Regions from separate parts of the Homo sapiens genome. Here regions 1 and 3 are each linked to region 2. The links are contacts of gene promoters, found by promoter capture Hi-C in blood cells and fetal thymus (Javierre and others, 2016). All regions are on one chromosome and are shown on one strand. The core of a region is centred on a gene start or on the middle of the fragment in contact, and the rest is flanking DNA. Distances in the headings are between cores, read along the strand shown.

Region 1 (3,520 bases), core at 308-2,807, about 25 Mb before region 2:
CAACTGACCATATGGAATTAAAATTTACTTAGAAAAAAATGAAATAAAAAAAACCAAAAAGTAAACTAATTCAGCAACTTTATGTTTTATGGAGTCATCTAGCCTCATGTAAACTACCATTAAGCAATACGTAAACATATTAATCTGCTTAATACGAAAGTAATGTCGTCTGGCCGCAGACATTCTGAAAGTTTTGCCACATTGTTTCAAAATATTGGCTTGTAGCCCTTTTCAAAGCTACTGATTATTGAAAACTTGGCGACCATGTTTAACAATGAAGAAAAGGCTTCCCCAAGCCTACGTAGATTGGATTCTCTAATACATAGTAATAATGTTTTTTAAAATAATGAGGTGTGTAATAAAATGGAGGAATATCCATGATGCATTGTTGGCTAATAAAACGATATACTGTACTATATATGATCCCAATCTTGTTTCTAAAGCACACTCATTAAATGCACAGAAAAAAAAAATCCTGAATAACTACCCACCACACTTGGAGACTGGCTACCCTGGGTAGTAAGAAGGAGAAATATGGGGGGAAGGGCGCGAGAGAGGGCAGGTTTCCTCATTGTTTGGCTGCTTCATGTTTTTCTCAAGGAGCAAGCAGTACTTTTGTAATTAAAAAAATAAATAGGGGAAAAACACTGCTAAAAGCATACTTTTTTCCTCCGTAGCAAATTCTTCTGATTTGTAATGTTAAAAATATATCTCTGGTTTCTCGATTCTAAAAAGAGGACACACGAAAACAAAATTATAGAAGTTCCAAAAAATCTTGGATTTGCAAAATTACTCCCTCGGGTTCTGCCCGTGGGTCCTCCCCATGCCGGTGTCTGAAATTCCCCAAGCAAAACGCGGGCACTGCACTTCCCCGGAACGGTAGTAGACGCTCAAAAACACAAAAAGAGGCCTTGGCGCCTGCTATAACCTCTCAGTCCCCTCCCAGCCCCCGAGACTTCCCCGAGTCTACGTAGACTGGATTCTCTGCCTCCAAAACCAAAACAGAAGTCACTGGGCGGATCCAAAACGGCCCTAAGGGGCCCGCGGGCATCTCAAGACGCCAGCCTCGGGACTCTGGTCCCCAAGCCCAGGTCAGAGCCGAGGACGAGCCGAGGACGGGCCGAGGACGCGGCGCCCCGGCCTCCCTCGGGCCCCCGACCTCCCCGGCCCCAGGGACCCCGGCTCCCGACCTCCAGGCTTCGCTGGGCCCCTTTCGACTCCCCGACCTCCCAAGTCCTCCGCCCCCGGCCCGTCCTTCCCCCAACCTGCCCCGCAGCGCCTCAGTTTCCTGGCCCCCGACCTGCCCGCCCTTAAGTCCCCCTGCCCCCGACTCTTCGGCTGCCGTCCCCCTGGCCCTCTGGCCTCCAAGCGCATCCCAGTCGCCCGCCCGGCCCTAGCACGCGGGACTCGCACACCCCACGACCCCGAGCCCCCACTGGCGGCGGCGTTACCTGTGGCGCGGGCAGCGGCGCGCAGGCCAGGCGCTAGGACTCGGCGGGGTCCGCAGCAGCCAGACGCCGCTACCACCACAATAACAACACGGACGCCACCGCCGAGTGGAGAGGCGGGGCCCGGACCCGCGACTGGAGCAGCCAGAGCCTCCCGGACTCCGGAGCCGCCGGGGTCCGGGCATGCGCAGAGAACCACGGGCACAGGGGCAGCTCCCCGCGGACGCCAAAGTCAACAAGGCCGGGAGACGCCCCCATCTGGCCCCGCCCCCCTCAGGGCTCGCTCCGCCCCCAAGCCCAAACAACGCGAGGCCTTGACAGGCCAGAAGACGATGGCGGTAGGGGAGATCACGCGAGAGCATGGCCTCCACCTCTCCTCCCCACCGCCATCTCCACGTTCTCGCACCGGCGCTGGGGTGCAGGCTTTCAGTGGTCTCAGGGCTACGGCTTGTCGGTGCCTCGCCGCACAGTCCCCTTTGCATTGAAGGACACGGTCTTACGGTGTAGGAGCATTTTTGAGGTGCATTCCTGGATTTGGAGGCGAACCCCCAATGGTTACCTCCACAGAGGCTTTGCGAAGGGCGCTCACTGACTTAGGTGAAGAGCGAAGGCTCAAGACTGTGCCGCTTTATAGTGGCCCCTTGACGTCCAGAAGTTCCCCCCAGCGCCGGTCATAAGCACTCCCGCCGCCTGGGCCCCGCCCTGCCTGCCAGGCGCCCTCCAGCCTCAGCTCCCGGACGCCCGGCGTGGCCGCTTTCTCGCGTCTTGCTGACCCGGGCCGGGGGCGTGTGCTCCTCCTGCAGCGGACGGAAGATGCTGGGCCACGCAAGTTTCCCTGGGCTTGGTTAACCACCCCAAAGCCCATTTCCAGAAGGAAAGGGTGTTGAGGAGGAGGGATAGAAAGTCGAGAAGAGGGCCGGGTGAGTGGCTCACGCCTGTCATCCCAGCACTTTGGGAGGCCGAGACAGGCGGATCACCTGAGGTCAGGACTTAGAGACCAGCCTGGCCTACATGGTGAAACCCCGTCTCTACTAAAAATACAAAAATTAGCCGGGTGTGGTGCCGTGCGCCTGTAGTCCCAGCAACTCGGGAGGCTGAGGTAGGAGAATCGCTTGAACCCGGGAGTCGGAGGTTGCAGTGCTGAGATGGCACCTGGCCTGGGCGGCAAGAGCGAAACTCCATCTCAAAAAAAAAAAGAAGAGGAAATGAGGCATAGGGGCAGGCGAGCCGGGAAAATATTGCTACTAAGGATCCTAAGCAGTGAACATGCTGTTAATACTTGTAAGACTCCTAGCAAACTGCATTTAATTTTTTAAATTAGTTTTAGTGTACATAAAGGCATGTCTTTTCCAAATACTGTACTTTTTGAAGTGTTCTTTGTTGTTCATTAATCTTTGTGCGTTTCCCTTCAGTCTCTAATAGTAGGTTGTAGCATGATTTGCTTCCATCGTGTGAATTCTGTTCGGTTTTGATTTTCAAGTATGAGAGTGAGCGTAAGCTACCCTTATAGGTTACCTAAGGTAAGTTAGAATTAGAACGTCTTTATGCTAGGGTTACTACTCCCCACCATAACCAACCATCTGCAAAAGCGTTCAGAAAGAACATGCTAGCAAGGTCAAAAGCTTCAAATCACGAAATAAGAACTTGAAAACGAGCAAAATTGCTGCTGAGGCGCTCTGCCATTTAACTCAAAGGCTTCACTTTATTTAGGTTTAAAGTATGAGTGCATATTCAGTGGACATTGAGCTCCGAACTGTTCAAAATCTCTATTCATCTGCATTCTGGAGTAGAGCTGCGGGTCACATTATTAGCTCCATCTTTGGATTTCTGCCTGGACCCAGGGCACTCCTAACCGTTGTGGGATCATATAACAATCTTACAGGATGAATTTTCTGTTAGTCCAAGCAGAAATTTTGGCACATGAAAACTATCTTACCATAAACAAACAAAAAAAGTACAAATGGTAATCTAAGGAAAATAGCTAAAATCATTAAACAACTCTTACAGCCGTTTCCCCTGTTTTCTCTCCATTTTTTAAAAGCATATTTTCCTTTACTTTCTTCCTTCTGCTA
Region 2 (3,396 bases), core at 543-3,042:
TTAACGTTCAGGTACCAAATATGTAAAATGAAAAATACTTGTCCTCCCTACGGCAAGAATCATTATGTGCATCAAATATAAGCAAAACTTTTATGGCTAAAATAAAAGGATATGGAGAAGAAGGAATAATAAATTCTAATTCTGTTCATAAAGAAAAACATTTCAAATTTGTATTGATAAAATAAATTGAAACAGAATAGGGACATATTTGTAGCTTTTAGAAATAAATTAGCTGTGAATATATTATTTTTAAAAACTGTAATAAATGTACATTGAGTACAAATGAATAATTATCCCAAAAACCAGAATTTTAATGCTAGAAGAAAAGGCAGATCATCTCGTTTAAGACATAAATTTAATCTTCTTAACAAGAACCTTGTTATTCAAGCGGAACACCTAAATGGCTGCTCTTGTTAAAATAAACCTGAGGGTGGGCTTGCTTTGTCTCTCCCTGCACGGCTCCAGAAAATTTCTACACAAGTTCTCCTATGGAACAGTTTTAAAACCCCAGCTTGAGTACTAACACTAGTTTCTAAAAATAAGGAGAATACGGCCAAGAGGTAAAATTGTACAAAGGCAACTAGAGTCAGGACTAGAATCCAACTGTCTTGATTTAGTCTAATACTCTTCAGTCTACTAGTCTAGTATTCGCTCTATGTCCTGTTACTTCTATTTTTTTTTTTAAGAAAAAAATATGAAGGGTTTTTTTTTTTGACTCTGTAAATAATTCTTTCAAATCTCTTTCTGGCTCAAGATCACTCAACTGTAATCTTTCTGGAAACAAGTAATTGATAATATAGGTGAGATCAGATAAGTTAAAAGAGCCACCCCAAGTTCATTCTGTTCAGGATTAAGTAAAGGTAACACTTTAGGGGAAGGTGTTTAGACTACAAGCTGCGGTGTTGTGAGCGCCCAAGTATCATTTAATTGTCCGAAACGTCAAGATAAAATATTTCCGAGGGGCATCACGGAAGTTTAACAGAATGTGTTAGACTTGAACGTTCAACAGCTTGCTCATTTTGCCAAAAGCCCTTTCACTAAATGTGGGAAATTTGGAAAATGGTACCTCAATAAATAAACAAACAACGATTTTTAATTTAAGAACCCAGGAAAAAATGTTAACAATTCTCACATTCAGATTTCTTATCAAAAGTCAACGTGAAATATAACTAATTTATCGCAAGCAATTTTATCAGAAACTTTTCATTATCTCTTCCTCCATAAGAAAACCAAACTGCATTTACGTGCGCTTTCAACAGTGTTAGAAAACTAAGCACTCAAATTTTTTGTACTACATATAACACTTTACATGAACTTTCAGATATTAAGTAAAGTTTGGATCCTCAATTCTTTATAAAGCCGTTTATAAGAGGTAAATATCTTCACGACCGCCAAATGAGAGAAAAAGATTTCGAAGTTCGTCTCTTAAGTTACTACGTGGAATGCAGAGGGGCTCAACTGCAGCTGTGTGTGTGTTTATTTTTAATGCCGCGATCCTAAAAACATCTTTAGGAGTTTAGGTTTGCTTCACTGCCTTTCCCAAAATTCAGCAGCTTTGATTTGCCTTTTCCAGGGAGACAGGAAGCCAATAAACAGGGAAAAAAAAGCAAACGGCGACAATTACAAGGTCGTGAAACTCCACGACCTCCCAGCTGAAAACAAGACCTCGGGTTTGCACTCCGGCTCTCTAGGGCAGACACTGACCTTAGGAGTCTGCGAAACGCCCACGCTCCACGTAACTTTCTCTGAAACATTCTCTGGAAAGCTTGTCTTTTCCTAGCCGAATCTGGATTACCAAGGCTTCCGGAACTCGCAGGCTTCCGGAGCGACGCAGGAGCCGGAAGTGGCTGAAAAAAAAAAGAAAAAGTTACACCAACGAGAACTGCGCTTTAGCGGCGCTGCTGAAGGCACTGGATGGCCAAACAACCGCGAACGCCGACAAGCCGAAGAGCCGAAGGGCCGAAAAGCCGAAGCGGACACCCGCGCGCGGTGATTGGCCGGTTGGCCGGAAGAACTCTGTCTCTGATTGGCAGGAGAGTCACGAACCGGTCAGCCCCGGGTCAGGGGCCGCAAGTGAGGACACTACAAGTGTCGAGGGGCCTAGGGGAAGCCGGGGCTTGGGAGGGCAGGGCTTTCTCTGCTTGCGGACATCGCGAAGGGCCTCTGGCAGGCGCCGCCGGGTGGCGGCGAGACGCCTCCGCGCCTCCGGGGTTCCTTGTTCGCTGTCGGAGGAGGACCGGCTGAGGGATGGCCTGGTGGGGAGGGAGCCCTCGGGCAGGTGGCTGCGTCGGGCCTGGGGCAGTTGTGCTGCGCTTGGAGACCTGCCCGCCCTCGGGGCCTGTGTGCACAGGGAGGATAGGCTGTTTATCTCTGCAGGCTCAGGAAGGCAGGTAGCTGGCCCGTCAGTCATCCGCCCTGCAAAGCGCTCCCGAGAGACCCCGTAGAGCGGGCCAGCGCGCGCCTGGCCTGAGGTTTCCCGCCCCCGGAGGCCCTCACATCTCCCCGGTAACGCTTAGGAATTCGGGCAGCCAGCTCGCCTACCCCTGGGGAATCGAGGCAGAGCTTCTGGGAATGGGGTCTGAGGGAAGAGTGCTCACCAGGCAGTGACATGTAGCCGTTGAGGATCGCCACTGCCTTCTCGTTCTGTGGTATGAATGGCAGTGTCTCTCTAGAGAGTTAGTGCTTAAGTTTGAATGATGGCAGGCACTTCAGGATTCCAGCACGTAGTAGGGTTTAAGAACGTCTTAGTTCTTACCTCCAGTCTCGACTCACCGTTCCTACAAGGAACACTCACTTCTACGAAAGCTCTATTAGACATTCGAGGGAGAGCTTATACTGTAGAACCAGTGTTATTAGGAAAGTTTTTTTTTTTTTGCTTGTATTTTTATTTCAGAAACTACCCATGGAGCAGAGTTGCTAAAATAAAATTTATTAACTCTAATGCTATCCAAATTGTGAAACAATGGTACAAATGAGATAGAGTAGAAGCTACAAATTGATAGAGTATGTAGTTCACTTAGGGGTTTGGGAGTGGATTTTCTAGAGCTGCAACTGTCCAGTGTAGTAGTCACTGGCCACCTGAAAAGTGGCTAGTCTGAACTGAGGTCTGCTCTAAGTGTAGAACATGCACCAGATTTCTAAAGCGTGGTCTGAAAAGAAAAAGAATGTAAAGTATTTCATTAATTTTATATTGCTTACATGTCAAAATGAGAATGTTTTGGAAAATTTTAAATTACGTGGCTTCCATTATATTTCTATGGATACTGCTGTTCTAGAGAGTAAAAAAATCTCACTGAAGAAGAGTAGGCCTTTCGTTTAGCAACTGTGAAGAAAACCAACCACGCTGCACCTCTCAGGTAGCCTACAGATGTGCTGTGCTTCACTTAATTTTTGAGA
Region 3 (3,598 bases), core at 999-3,498, about 21 Mb after region 2:
ATGTTGTTACATGTATTCATAGTTCATTCCTTTTTATTTCTGGGTCGTATTCCACTGTATGGGTCACTCCCAGAAAAAGCAGTCCTTATTTCCAACCCGGTGCAGAGCTGCAGGTAAACGGTTTCATACACAACAGCTTAACTTTGTCATTTACAAGAAATTAGAATTCCCACTTTAGGCCAGACTTGATTTTAACTTCTTTACATATGGCACCACTTCAATTTAAAGGTTTTTTTGTTTTGTTTTGAGACAGAATCTCCTTCTGTCACCCAGGCTGGAGTGCAGTAGCACGATCTCAGCTCACTGCAGCCTCCACCTTCTGGGTTCAAGTTATTTTCATGCCTCAGCCACCTGAGTAGCTGGGATTACAGGCGTGAGCCACAGCACCAGCCATTATTGTAATAGTTTAATTTGAAAATTCACAGGTGGGCCGGGAGCGGTGGCTCACGCCTGTAATCCCAGCACTTTGGGAGGCCCATGCGCGCGGATCACGAAGTCAGGGCGACTGCAGCCTCGGCAACACAGCGAGACTCCATCTCAAAAAATAAAAAATAAAAAATTCACAGATGTTTATCTAGAATGGTCAGAATAGTCAGTGGAACTTCTTAGGAAAATCATGACCCTTCACATCTCTAGAACCAAAACACGTGCAGAAATCTTATTTCACAAATATAAATGGAATTTGGAAACTTTGAGTTAAAGCAGATCCCAATAACATTTGCTAAGTTTTTGGCCTCCTAATTTAATTTAGTCTTTAATCATAAGTCTTGGCAAGTGTAGTATGCTTTTATTATTTATTATTTACAAAACTCCCTTCCACACATGAATCACAATATGCATTACGACACTGTTGCAAAATAGGTCAAAATACATTTTTGGTATTTGGTGGTTATTAATATTACCCCTGCTGTATTCCTTGAGAAAGCCTGTATTTAGTTCACTTAAGACAGTTGCTTACACGCTAATGATCATTTACCGATAAAATACAGAGTTTCCTTATAGCAAAATATAATCTTAAAACCCTAAGGCAGCCTTCAAGCATTTCCCTTATAATTAAAACCTGAAGGCCTGGCGTGGTGGCTCACGCCTGTAATCCCAGCACTTTGGGAGGCTGAGGTGGGCGGATCACGAGGTCAGGAGATCAAGACCATCCTGGCTAACACGGTGAAACCCCGTCTCTACTAAAAATACAAAAAATTAGCCGGGCGTGGTGGTGGGTGCCTATAGTCCCAGCTGCTCGGGAGGCTGAGGCAGGAGAATGGCTTGAACCCAGGAGGCGGACCTTGCAGTGAGCGGAGATAGTGCCACTGCACTCCAGCCCGGGCGACAGAGCGAGACTCTTGTCTCAAAAAAAAAAAATTTGAAAAGGCAGTTCGTTTCCTTCTATAGCTGCATCCCAGAGATGGTCAACATAGCATATAAAAATGGAATTTTTGCAAACCCCTTTTGCAGTGTTGTAGAAAAGCTTAAAATAAAACGTAACGAGAAAGCTCCCTCCATAAGTAAATACAATCTAATGTGCTTCCCCTTATGTGTTATTAAAGCTACAAATTAGTAGGAAAAGAATAGTGCCGCCCACGGGCTTTCCAACTTTTGAATTCTGGGGACTAACAACAGAGAGCAAGAGTGAATGAGCCAAACGACGCAAACGTGCCCTCGCCAGGCTGGCAACTGGTAGGCACGCAGTGTATTAGTTGCCCTGGAGAGAAACACCCTGGAGAGAAATACCCAATTTGTGAACTAAACCTAGGTCCCGGAAGAACAGTGTTCGGCGTCAGACTCCGTTGAGCTCATTCTGGAAGGATCCAACTGGCGCCACCAGGGAGAAAAAGCGATTCCACCTCAATAACACTCCAGAAAAAGGCATGAAGAGCCCTATACCTGCCAGGGCGACTTTGACCTAGACCCGGTGACCCGGTTCCTAGCGCTGCAGCCCTACCCGCCCCCCGCCCGCCCCCGCCTTGCACGGAGCCCCTCCTCTGTACTCATTCGTTGCGCCACGTCTCCTAACTCTGCGCCACCAGCCACCCCGCGAAGGCGTCCACCAATTAACCCCTCCCAGCTTCTGGTCTACAGTAACGGGTCCCCAACGCCGCGTCTTAACCAGGCCCGAACCGACCACCGCCAACCTTCCCTGACACGCCTTTGCCCCACCCGACCCCGCCCGCCCCCACGTGACGCCCACGCCCCGCCCACTGGCGCCCACGTGACCCACGGTCGTCCCCGCGCGCGGCGTGGATCGCGGCCCAAGCCGCCATTGTTCCGCCGAGGGAGGACAGCGGGGCCTGGCGCTGGCGCCGAGACGCCGCTTAGCGGCCGCCACTGGAGACACTCCCTCCCGCCTCCCGGGTCTCCTGGCGGCGGCGGAGTGAGGCTGACAGCGGGGAACCTGGGAGACCCCTCCGCCCTCCCCGCGGTGGCAGCGGCCGATCCCCGGCTCCGGCGCGAGGGACGGCCGCGATGCGCTCGGCCTGAGGTTACCCGGCCCGGCCCTTCCTCGCTTCCCTCGACTATTCCACTGCGTCTCCGCGCCCCGGCGTCATCCTGCGAGTCCCTCTGACGGGAGGGAAGATGGCTGCACGGAGCTGGCAGGACGAGCTGGCCCAGCAGGCCGAGGAGGGCTCGGCCCGGCTGCGGGAAATGCTCTCGGTCGGCCTAGGCTTTCTGCGCACCGAGCTGGGCCTCGACCTGGGGCTGGAGCCGAAACGGTACCCCGGCTGGGTGATCCTGGTGGGCACTGGCGCGCTCGGGCTGCTGCTGCTGTTTCTGCTGGGCTACGGCTGGGCCGCGGCTTGCGCCGGCGCCCGCAAAAAGCGGAGGAGCCCGCCCCGCAAGCGGGAGGAGGCGGCGGCCGTGCCGGCCGCGGCCCCCGACGACCTGGCCTTGCTGAAGAATCTCCGGAGCGAGGAACAGAAGAAGAAGAACCGGAAGAAACTGTCCGAGAAGCCCAAAGTGAGTATGGGATGAGCGGCAGTAGAGAACGGGCGAAGGGCGGGCGTGGAGACCCTCGAGCTTGGGGGAGGCCGCGCCCCAGCCGGGAAGGAAAAGAGTGCTTAGTCGAAAGCCGAGAGGCAGCACTCCCAAGTGGAGGAGGAGGTGATAGGTGGTCATGTTATTTGGGGAATGGGGGGAACTCAGGAAGTATAGGACGAGTGGGGAAGCCCAGTTTCGAGGAAGGAAGTTAGGAGGTCTGGGGGTCCGTTCAGATAGGCGCCCAGAGGTCAAGCCATCTTTGGGAACCGTCACCGCTAGAATAAGCACAGCATCCTTCCTTGAGGCCTGCAGAGTAGGCTGCATGTGGAGCGTAATGGGACCTTAAGGTGGTGTTAGGAAGTTGTATAAAGACTGCGCTCGGAAGACAGATGTCTATCTCAAGTCACATTGAGACAGTAGGCAGTGGAAGAAGTGCGGTGACCTAGAAATTCTGGGGCTTACACAGGATTAAAGGTGTCCAGGTCTAGACGCGCTTCCATTTTAGTTGGGACTGTTAAAGGGAAATGGTTGCCCATTCTTGTTCTGGCAAATGTGGCCAACAGAGGCCGGAACGGGAGCAAGGCAAGAGGGGGTCGGTTACCTAATACGCTTTGAGGTGTATGGT

Evidence for each region. Contacts are between HindIII fragments. The CHiCAGO score rates a contact against its expected background, and 5 or more counts as called.
Region 1: the fragment with the promoter of PCMTD1 here is called in contact with the fragment with the promoter of PEX2 in region 2 in 2 of 17 cell types (total CD4 T cells and naive CD8 T cells); the score reaches 8.8 in total CD4 T cells.
Region 3: a contact is called between the fragment with the promoter of MTDH here and the fragment with the promoter of PEX2 in region 2, in 3 of 17 cell types (total B cells, fetal thymus and total CD4 T cells). The highest score is 9.8, in total B cells.

The regions. Positions count from the first base shown.
Region 1 is chr8:51,897,479-51,900,998 of GRCh38, forward strand. PCMTD1 (protein-L-isoaspartate (D-aspartate) O-methyltransferase domain containing 1) reads right to left here and starts at 1,558. Exons shown (of 6, transcript NM_052937.4): 1 at 1,452-1,558. It overlaps PCMTD1-DT (PCMTD1 divergent transcript), which reads left to right and starts at 1,837. Exons shown (of 4, transcript NR_189279.1): 1 at 1,837-2,368. RefSeq lists a silencer at 1,065-1,754 and enhancers at 1,795-2,084, 2,255-2,314, 2,615-2,674. The HindIII fragment of the contact is 4,691 bases long and covers 1-3,068 here.
Region 2 is chr8:76,998,286-77,001,681 of GRCh38, forward strand. PEX2 (peroxisomal biogenesis factor 2) reads right to left here and starts at 1,793. Exons shown (of 4, transcript NM_000318.3): 1 at 1,705-1,793. RefSeq lists an enhancer at 1,788-2,082. The HindIII fragment of the contact is 1,935 bases long and covers 1,764-3,396 here.
Region 3 is chr8:97,641,936-97,645,533 of GRCh38, forward strand. It overlaps MTDH (metadherin), which reads left to right and starts at 2,249. Exons shown (of 12, transcript NM_178812.4): 1 at 2,249-2,952. The coding sequence starts at 2,572. RefSeq lists silencers at 1,837-1,946, 2,127-2,586, 2,857-2,926, 3,210-3,378 and enhancers at 2,099-3,079, 3,080-3,598. The HindIII fragment of the contact is 3,502 bases long and covers 1,464-3,598 here.